Regions from separate parts of the Homo sapiens genome. Here region 2 is linked to region 1. The links are contacts of gene promoters, found by promoter capture Hi-C in blood cells and fetal thymus (Javierre and others, 2016). All regions are on one chromosome and are shown on one strand. The core of a region is centred on a gene start or on the middle of the fragment in contact, and the rest is flanking DNA. Distances in the headings are between cores, read along the strand shown. Region 1 holds the start of FLJ42393 (a long non-coding RNA gene). Region 2 overlaps LOC107986166 (a long non-coding RNA gene).

What was found. The method cuts DNA at HindIII sites, captures the fragments that hold promoters and counts their contacts. A CHiCAGO score of 5 or more calls a contact.
Region 2: a contact is called between a fragment that was not itself captured here and the fragment with the promoter of FLJ42393 in region 1, in 1 of 17 cell types (fetal thymus). The highest score is 5.4, in fetal thymus.

What each region holds. Positions count from the first base shown.
Region 1 is chr3:188,175,035-188,180,366 of GRCh38, reverse strand. FLJ42393 (a long non-coding RNA gene) reads right to left here and starts at 1,824. Exons shown (of 1, transcript NR_024413.1): 1 at 1-1,824. All of the region lies in intron 1 of LPP (LIM domain containing preferred translocation partner in lipoma), which reads right to left. RefSeq lists an enhancer at 448-1,060. The HindIII fragment of the contact is 11,595 bases long and covers 1-5,332 here.
Region 2 is chr3:187,999,305-188,004,612 of GRCh38, reverse strand. It overlaps LOC107986166 (a long non-coding RNA gene), which reads left to right. Exons shown (of 5, transcript XR_001741061.2): 3 at 625-712; 4 at 2,034-2,198. Among named protein-coding and RNA genes, the nearest start is that of LINC01991, 26 kb to the right of the region's middle. The HindIII fragment of the contact is 5,852 bases long and covers 1-4,434 here.

The sequences.
Region 1 (5,332 bases), core at 575-3,074:
GACACACTCAGAGTAGCAAGCACAGAGCATGACTGGCAGGGGACAGCCATAGCAAATCCTGGAAACAGAGGTGAGGTCAGACGAGAGCAGGGCAAGGTGGGCACGGTGAGGGATTCTGCCCACAGGCTACGGGAGGCAGTGAGTGAGAAGGCAAGAAGCCAGCTGGGAAGCCGAAGGACAAATGCCTTCCCAGACACCTTAAATAAAAGCAGAGTCAGGGAGCGCGGAAGCCCACGCCAGGGAGAGCAGGAAGATAGTTAAGTGTCTTACACTCATTGCCATTTACAAAATGGTTCTCCTTAATTTTCTTCAAACAAGGCTATGCATATATTGGTGTCTGGAAATGAAATTAATTAGTAAATCAAATCAATACATTCTTATTGGCCAAGCATCACTCACGATCCCTTCTGACTTCATCCTAAAAGTGGACCCAACCAACAACCCCCTATGTTGCTTCACAAGTAATTTCTGACCAGTCAGGCACAGATGCCATGCAAAAGACAAGGCCTCAAGGTGCCATTATCTGTCAAATGGACCCAAGGCAGGATGAGGCTGAATGAAAGAGGAGGAAGAGGAAGAAAGGCTCACTCAGGGGGAGAGGGGAAGCTGCTGCAAGCTAACTACTGCTCTCACTGACTCAGGATGCCCATTTCTCACAACCAGAGGCCACAGTTTTGGAGCAGACAAGAGACTGCAGAGAGGCTTGCTGAAGCTCACTCCACGGCTGGATTCCTGGCAGGATGAGAAATGGAGTTCTAGTAAACTAGAAGGAATGCTGCTGGCAGGAGACAGACCTCTCGAGAGGGCTTTAAATGGAAATATGAGAGCACGAGAGGAACTCTAAGTGTAGAAAATGCACTGGGCAAACAAGCGTGTCGCAGATGTGGGCGCCCCAGAAGGGAAGGAGCTCTGGAGTCACAGGGGACCCAAAGGACAGAATGTCAGGTGGCCCTCCAAGCCCGCAGGTGGCAATGGGAACAAGGCGGGAAATGAACTGGAGAGCTGAAGGCGGGGGCCTAGGAGGAGGCCGCAGAGCTGTGATGAAGGGCTGCTCATCAGAGGCACATGCACGGGTCAGATAAAGAAGCTCCGCTGCGAAGACAGGGGGCAATGCAAGGCCACAGCCGAAGATTCCATGCATGCTCTTCACGGTGGCAAATTCAAAAGCCTTGGAGGGCAGCATGCTTCTATGATAATAGGGAATGGGGGCCGGGGGGAATATGTAGACCCCATATCAATGCTCTCAAAACCTCTCTCTCTCTCTCTCTCTCTGTCTCTCTCCCTCCCTCTCTCTTGCTCACTCTCTCTCTCTCTCTCTCTCTCTCTCTGTCTCTCTCCCTCCCTCTCTCTTGCTCACTCTCTCTCTCTCTCTTTGTCGTGCTCTCTCTCTCCCTCTCTCTCCCACTCCCCACCTCTGGCCTAATATACCTGCATGTCCACAGAGGCACCAATCTGCAATGATGATGGACTCTCTCACCCACCCTGCTACTAGGAAACTTCTTCCATATATCATAAACAGAGACCAGTATTACAATACTTCACCCACTGCGCCAATTTGGCTTTCATGTCTGTTTCCTGTGTCGATCACAACATCCTAGACAGCCCAAACAAGGCTTTATTCACCTCTAGTCCCCGGTCCCTGGAACAGCAGACAATAAATAAGGAATCAACAAGTGTCCTTCACTGCCGCACACATTGGCTGTGAATATCCTTTTGCAAAGTGCAGAACATCTGAAAGATTCTCACATTGACTAAACAACAGTGTGACCTGAAGTTAAGAGAACCATAAAGGTAAATGATTGCTAGAAGTTTAATTCCAAACAAGGAAGAGCAATTTGATGCAATGGGCAGAAGACAAACATTGGGAGAATGAGAACGTATCCTCTTGAGTTGTGATGTGAACAAACAGAGATTCCAAGATCTTGCAAAAGCGAACAGTCAGCAACCAGCATGGTGCTTAGAGTAGTCCCTGGGCAACAGAAAAAAAACAGATAAATGAAGAAACATGGACAATCACCCTACCTGGGTCTCAGCGTGAGGAGGAGAACTAGGACTTCCAGACAGAAAAGAGGAGAAGCATGAGGAGGGGGCTGGGAAAGACATTTCCCTGTGGGCATGTGGTGCCCTCCACTGGGGCCAGAATTCCCAACCTGCCTCACTCTCCCCATCTGTGAAATTGGCTGATTCCCTGAGGTCCCTCCCAGCACTGACTATCAAGTGACAGAGAACCTAGAAACTCCAGGAGCTCCATCAGAGCCCTGACTACCTGTCCAAGTGAGACTGTGGGAGCCTCACTCTTCTCACACCTGTAAACTGAGGGTGCTGCAGTGTCAGCTATATCAACACTCCCAAGTATGCCTTTGCCAAAACCTCTATGGATGAGAAAGGAAAAGAGCATGTATGGAATTGGCCAGGGCTTAGAACCATCTTGAACATGACACACTTATGCACATCGTCACATCTTCCCAGCATCCCTGTCCCACCTCGGGCAGCAACTGTCAAAGTTCTGCCCCCAGGATGACCTCCCAGAGTCCTCAGGGCAGCTCCATCTCTCCAGCCCTCATTCCTTTCCAGCTCTTTGGTGTTTCCCTGTAATAAAAACACTGTGCACTTCTCTTTTCATGTTTTAACCATGAAGTGCCTTCCTCCAGACAAGTACTTTAATCCTTACTCCAGTCAGAATAGGTAACATCAGCATAATTACCATCATTACTCCCATTTTACAGAGGAGAGGGCTGAGGCTCACGTAAGACCTAATCTTCATCTTCCCAGGGATCCTCCAACTCCTAGCCAGGCCTCTCCCAGCTCCTAAATCAATCATGAAAGACTACAGCAATCACATCCAGTACTTTTCTGATCTAGTGTCTTTGCCGCTAAATAAAGGCAGAAATCAAGGTGGCAGGATCAATCCTGTATTCAAATCACTGTACTGTCTGCCACCCTCCTATGCTGGTCCAGGGAGCAGAACTGAAAATGTGCCTCAAGGCCCCAATCCAAAACAGATGCCATCACCCTGGACAGATTCTCCAACCATGCTCCAAGACTGGTATCCATCTCACTTCAACCAGCCCTCCTTCCCAGGCCTGGGTCTGTCTACTGGCACAGGGGGACCCTGCCATGAAAATGAGGGCATCTCTACTGGATTGCAGGCGATCCCCTCGCTGGGCTGGCCCACCCATTCAACCATCACTGGACCACCCCCAGGCCTGCTACCCCTTCAGACACTCAGCCTCATACTGCCTAGCTCTTTCTACCAGGTCTCTCCCTCAGATCAATTCCACCTCAGCCCCAAACTTGCCATCTCCTAAGCAGATTTATACTTCTTCCCAATTTCTATCCTTCCTCTAGCTCATTACTGCTTTCCTGTTGCTTAAGCTAAGTCTATTTCAAATTATAGCTCAGAGAGGGCAGGTGACTTGTTCAAGACTACACAGCCATTTAGTGGCAAAGCTGGGGCTTGAACCCAGCTCTCCCAATTCTAAGCCTTGTGTTTTTCCACTAAATCTCAGCTGTCTCTCTCTATCATACTGCTCAAGAAGCCACTGGTGCATGAGAGGGTGCAGACCACATCTTATTCTCTTTAGTAATGTGTACACTAAGGGCCAGGTATATGTTCAGTGACTTCTTGCAGTCCTAGGAGGTATGACTGTCTTTGTTTACAGATGAGAAAATGTTTTCAGACTACTGCACTGCTATACCACTAGTCTAAATACAGTTGTGAACACACAGCACTGGTCAATAAATGTGGGTTAACTGATTTTTTTTTTTTTAATTAGCTGAAGAGAGCCTAATGGAAAGACCTGAAAAACAAGTTTGTGGCCAGATCAGGCAAAGGGGGTAAGATCCAGTTATCATTCTGCAGTAGAACTAAACATAATATTGTTGCAGGACAATCTCTGATGGCAATGTGAAGCAGTCTGTGAGTCGGGGTGCCTGATTTTGACTCTACCTGACCTGACAGTGTGTGTGACTCTAGGCAAATCTTTTCTATTTCCAGGCCTCATTTCCCCATCTTCAAAAACTCTTTTTTAAATTTATTTATTTATTTTTTTTACAAAAGAAAGAAAGCAAGAAATCCCAGAAGTTGAACTAGATCATAGGTTCTCTTCAACATTAGTAGCACCTGTGAGCTTCTTAGAAATGAAAATTCAGGGGTCCCGCCTGATTTACAGCATCAGAACCTCTGAGACGGGGCCCAGTAAACTCTCCAGGATGACCCTAATGTTCCTTCGAGTTTGAGAACCATTAGACTAGATGACCTTTATGATCCTTCCAGCTCTATCACTCTGAGAACCTTATGCTTTCTCAATTCAACAGCATCAACTCCTCCCAATTTTGCCATTCTGATTTTGATCTGGCATGAACTTGGGTCATCTGGCTCTCTCATCTGGTCATGTCTGATGCTTCCTCCTGTGATTAATAGAAAAGGCCCCAAGAAACAGACAGTATACTCCACTGCACTTATTTTTTCCATTTACCACCTCAGTGGTATGCATTCTGTCACTATATTTAAAAAAAAAAAAATTAACATGTACAAAAAAGCCCAACTATGAGCACAGTGGCATCCTGGTACTATCCTTTTAAAAATTGGAAAAGGAGTTTACTCCTGAGGCAAGTCAGTAAGGAACTGCTGTATTATCTGAAAAATAGGACCTTTCTGAGCCCAGTGATCTCTTTTTAGTATAAAGCCAGTTGAAGGAATAAGAGAGCATTTGCATTCTACACCAGAAATACTCGTAGATTAGCAAACCTTTTCTTTCTTGGTCCTTACATATCAAAACAAACAAACAAATCCAGATCGACCTTACAAGTATAAAAACACATCCCAATGAGTACTATTTTCTCTGTGTTAACTATCAACAAATGGACTGTTTACTGCTGAAATAGTGCCTGAAACTTTATTGTGAAATGAATGAATGTGCACCTTCTCAGTGCCAGCATGGGAGATGTAAAGATAAGCAAGTTAAAATTCTACTCTAGGTGGGGCGTGGTGGCTCACGCCTGTAATCCCAGCACTTTGGGAGGCCAAGCAGGCGGCTCACTTGAGGTCAGGGGTTTCACACCAGCCTGGGCAACATGGCAAAATGTCATCTCTACTAAAAATACAAAGAAAACTAGCCAGGCATGGTGGGAGGCACCTGTAATCCCAGCTACTTGGGAGGCTGAGGTAGGAGAATCGCCTGAACCCAGGAGGTGGAGTTGCAGTGAGCCAAGAACCCACGACTGCACTCCAGGCTGAGCGACAGAGCGAGACTCTGACTCAAAAAATATAAAATAAAATAAAATTCTACTCTAAAGAAACTAAATTTGAGTCTAGTGTCAGCAGTGTCAA
Region 2 (5,308 bases), core at 259-2,758, 180 kb after region 1:
TGAGAAGTGTTTTGCATTCTGTAGGCAGCCTGCAATTATGAAGAGAGAAAAATGGGTAGAATTTTAAACTTTGTGGGGGAAAAAGAGGATTTTAGGAGTACAGGGCAGAAGGATGGAATGTGCCCCTGAATTGGGCTGGTGGGGAGTCCTTTCATGTACAGGAAGGAATAAAATACTGCTAAAAGGAGATTTATGACATTCACTACAGTCAGATAGGATAGTAGATGACAGTTTGCTCTCTAAAATCCGTAAGGACACATTTCCTCCTAGGGAAAAGTATCCTTCCTCCCACCGCACCTGGCACAGGCATACACATCTATTTATTTCCTTAATAAAGTATTTCTTCAAGGAGATTAGATAGGTAAGTGCGTCCTAGCACTAAGTAACCATTACTCATCCCAAATGTGGTCTTCAGTACAATAAACCTTAATTAAACACCATAAAGGGACAGGATACTTGTTCAGGCCTCTAGGGGACACAAATTGGAACAGAACTTGAGCCCTCAACATGTCTATAGCTTAGCAAACTCATGTGGCTCAGAGCCTTCACAACAAAGCAGGAAAGGCAAGGCCTCCCTTTTCACCTACAAAGGATTCATCTTCTTCTATACCCTCTTTGTTACAGGACAGTAATGCTTCCAAGCTAGAGGCATTCAAGGAGTGGCCCAGAGAACATGTCATTCAGGGCCTGGAAGATTTCCATCAGCATTCAGGTAAAGGCCTTGGCCCCTGGAGCCTGTCTCACCAGGAGGGAGCCCGGCAGGAAAAAAACAGTTGGGTTGTACTGAGCTGATCTCATTAGTGCTAGGGTTAATCCTGAGGTTAATGTATATTCGTTAGATTTTTTTTGTTTGTTTCCTGGTGAAATATTTCCATCCCTAAGCTGAGTTACTCTGTAAACTTCGGCATGGATTTAGCTGCATTCTCACTGAAATGCAGTGCCAGTCAGTGTACAAAAAAAAGCCCTAAGATCTTCCTTTAAAAGGGCTATATTTGAGTGTTCAGGTCAGATAATAAGGCCCAGAGAAGGTACAGAAGAAATGAAGAGTCTGCACTTATGTGCCTGTAAATGTTTAACAAATGGCTCTGTGGGGTGAAGGGGAAGCCCTGTTTGTAGTATTTGCTGATTTCTGCTGTGTAAATACTCCCACTGTGCCTGATTTCAAGCTACCAATACGATGCTCACTGAATGTGGAGCTAGGAAGAGATGCCAGGGTCAGCTCTTGTGAGCTGGTACCTGTTGGCTCCCGTACACCGCTAGCCAGCAGTCAGAACAGACACAACGAGAACACACTTGGAGGAGAGGAGGAGTTGGAACTCAGATGAGGAGGTTAGGTAGGTGTGATGGTGAATGTGGGAGTGTCAGCAGCACACGAAGATAAGCAAGAGGTGGACAGGCTGAGCGGCAGCCAGCATCAAGCCAGCCATAATAAATGGTCATCCTAAGAAAGACAGCTACTATTCACTGAGCAATGCTATGTGTCAAGAATTCAGTCTGCTTTGTGATGTATTCTCACAGTATCTCTGCAAGGGTAATTTTATTCCTATTTAACAAATGAGGAAATTGAGGCCTAGAGAGATAAAGCAACTAGTCATGTAAGAAGTGGTTAGGTAAGAGTGCAAACCTGCTGTTTGTTTCCACTCTACCATCAAGCTAGGGGGAGGCTGGGAATAAGTCCTGTTCCTAGACAGGCAGGCTATGGAGCTGTTGGTGGTAGACTTTAATTCCAACAGTTTTGTAGGAATGAGGACCCTGGGTGGATTATGAAATCAGAGATAAGATGAGTCACTGGACCCAGGGTGCAAGGTCAGAAAGGGACAAACTTGATGCTGGGTCACCTGACTGCTAAATGTCCTCTCACTGAAGACAATAAAAGCCCTCAATCCTGGAGTGGAGCAGAGAATTAAGTTGAGAACTCTTGCAGTGTCAACCACGCAAGGTATCAGTGACCAAGTCCTTGTGGATGCAGTTGGGACTTCTGAGGAAATACCCTATATAGGATAACTATGGATATCTATGTTTTATATCAATAGGGGTCTACAGTCCTACAGAGCTGTAATACAGCCTACGGAAACGAGTTTGAAAATGGAAAACTATGCTGAATAAACTGCTTATGACCCAACATCATTCCAAAGCAGAGTTGAGACTATGGTATAGCCGTGCACAGTGTAAGGCATGAAGGTTGGACGAGGATCCAGGTGAGTTAGGTAATGGAAGAGGGATGTGACAAAGCGTGCAGAACCGAAAGCCTCAGGATGAGATGAAGAAGGAGTGAAGGAAGCCTGGGAATTATATTAAAGAAAACTAGAGGAAAACCACCTTTCAGGTAGAGGGTCAAGAAGGCCCAGGACTAAGAAGAGCCTGAAAGGTCTCCAGGGAATGTGACACTGGTGCAAAAGGGAAATGGAGTAATAATAAGTGGCTGATAAATCAGATTAAACTTTGCTGGTATTTGCTATCTGTAGATAGCTTATGTTCCTGAAGTTCCTTTCCTGAGTAGCAGAGTTTAATGGTGTCTCTTAACTGTCAGTATTCTGTGTGAGCATTGAGAGTTGAAAGATAGAATTACAGTGACACAAGGTGGGGAATTTATTATTCAAAGAAAAACCAGATTGAAGTGGGATGTTGTGGTTGTAGATGCCCTGTCTATGAAGGACAAATCTCCCTTTTCATTCTGGAGTGCAGTAGCCAAAATCTGTGCCATTACATGAGTGAGCCCTTTACTACAACAACCTTATGAGATAAGGTCTCCTATTCTTCCCATTTTAAATTACAGAGAAGGAAAGTTTACCCTGCTAAGAAATGGCAGAATTAGGATTTGAACCTCATATACCCTTTAGAACCTGAACCTATATTATTAGGGCAAACCATATAAAATTTTCTGGGTTTTTTAGTATTTTATATTGGATGTCGGTAATTCCCAATCACATTATTTTGACCCTCAGTGTACTGAGAATACCATAGAAGTAAACAGATTTTGCTGTTTCAAGAAGCAGAATAGTCAGTTTCAGCTGCAACACAGTGTCTTGTCTTTTGTCACTTGTGATGCTAGTGGTGGGAATAGAACTTTTTAAGGAGCAGAGAGGATAAACTTGTGAGATTTTCAAGCATGTGGAAGTGACTTGAATGGATTCCCTTTAGGCAATGGACACCTGGATAGAGATCCAGGAAGAGACCACCCAGACGGTGAGCTACTTGAAGAGCCAGCATGGTTTCTGGCAGACAGTGTTGGTTAATAAACAGTGAACACTGAACGTGTATGCCTGTGTCAGATTTCACACTGAGATGACATAGTAATATGGCTCTCCCCTGGTGTGTACATTCACTACTCACCAACTCAACATCTTGGCACAAGGTTGAAAGTTTGGACCAGAGCAAATTTTGGCAGAGCAAATGGTGTTGGGGTGGAAAAGTCAGCGTTTGCTCAGATTGTTCTTGCACTGTCCAAGCCAGGTGGCTTCAGGAACATTGTTCATACTTCCTAAGTCTTCTGTTAAGTGAGCAGGCTTATTCTTTCCAAAGTTCTCTCTAGATGGTTGGGAGGCTGTTAACAGCTTAGAGAAAGTCTTTGTGAGCAAAAAAAAGCAAAAAACAAAAAAACAAAACAAAACCCCACAAAACCAAAAACATTATTTGAGGTGGGGTATAAAATGTTTAATCTTGTCGGAAAAATAGGGAAGCAACATGGTGGCTAGTCTGGAATTTCTGAAAGGCTCACCATTAGGGAGATAGACAGTACGTGGGTCAAAAGGGAGAGTGAGAAAGCACTTCTGACACTTCACGCAAACCTGGCCCCATGCCTGAATGTCTATGGAAGCCACCTCCCTACTGCCTCTGCACTTTGACTCAGTACCTTCACCTGCTGCAGAGGGTGATTAGCAGCAAGGTCTACCACCACAGCTGTGGGCTTCCTGCTCCAGCCTGCCCTTGGGGCCTCCATCACCTCATTTCTTCTGGCCTCCTCCCCGTTCCCCATTTTGGAACAACTGTACATAATCCCCTCTCCCCTGCCTTCCCCCTCCCCAAACACCCCCACCTGCCCCTTCTGGCTCTGTGCCAGCAGCTGGCTGGTAAGCAGTGCCAAATCAAACAGATGTGTGTGGTATTGACCAGCACGTGTTACCAGGCTCCCTGTCCAGCCCCGTGCCTGATCAGGGCTCTCTCTCAACTGGCCGACACCAGAAACCCCCTCTCAGGGGCACTGCAGGGCCTGGAACAGAGAAATGGCGAGATGCTATTGCCTTCTGGACATCTTAGTCTCCCTTCTCCTCACCTTGCAATTCTTTTTATTTCTTTCAGTTCAGCACCTCTTCCCCTGACTTGTTTACTTGTCTTTTTTATTTACTTATTTTTAACTCTTCCTCATTAATCAAGCTCCTGAACATTTAAAGAATTACAGTTTAAAAAGGCAAAACAGGGTCTTTAAAACAAGCTTTAAAATTCAAGTTCTCTTAGATTTATAAAAGACATCACAATAGGCCAGAACCAGCCAGAAGAATAATAGCAGCTGGTCTTCTTCACCGCAGCTCGCCCAAGCCCAGGATCTTTAAGATGTCACTTCCTTCCTTCCTTTCTTAGTGGCATGCAAAATTCATGGTAATTCTCAGAAGTAGGTAGTCTTGCAAGCAAATGGCTTTGATTCTCTGTACAATTGGCTAATTCTACTCACTCCCACCTACCTGTCTGAGCGAGGATGACTTGAGAACAGCAGCAATTAACCCAAGAGAGCCCTGTGACAGATCAAAGCTCTCTGGAGCACTGAAATCTCATTGAAAATAAAATTATCGAGTCTAGCCTAATGATACAAATATTGTTCGGGTTTTAGAGTATATATATTAAACATAAGAAGTGAAACAGCTTGCATTCTTCATAGCTGCTACCTAAGAAACAATCCTCCCAACAATGAAAAGCAACAATATTTTAGTGATTCATACTAAAGATGATGATTTTTCCAAAATAATGGCCTTAAATGTTGATAATCAACAGTGCCTACCTGAATTCCACAGACATGCATGATTTTGGCATTTTTCAGTTGAATTGAAAATGCAAGATTACTGAATTTGGCCTTGTCTACGCTTCTGAATATTACTTAAGAGATCATCAACATGTAAGAAATATTAAATTATAATAATATGTTTCCTATTTTGATTTTGCCCTGATGTCCAGAATGCTCACTTGAATTTGATTCTCAATTCGATAATTACATTAGTCTTTGCCACATCTTTTTGCTTTAATCTAAATATCTAGTTCCTTTTTTTAAAAAAACCCAGGGTATAACTTCTTTTATGTTATAAATTGTCCAAAATTC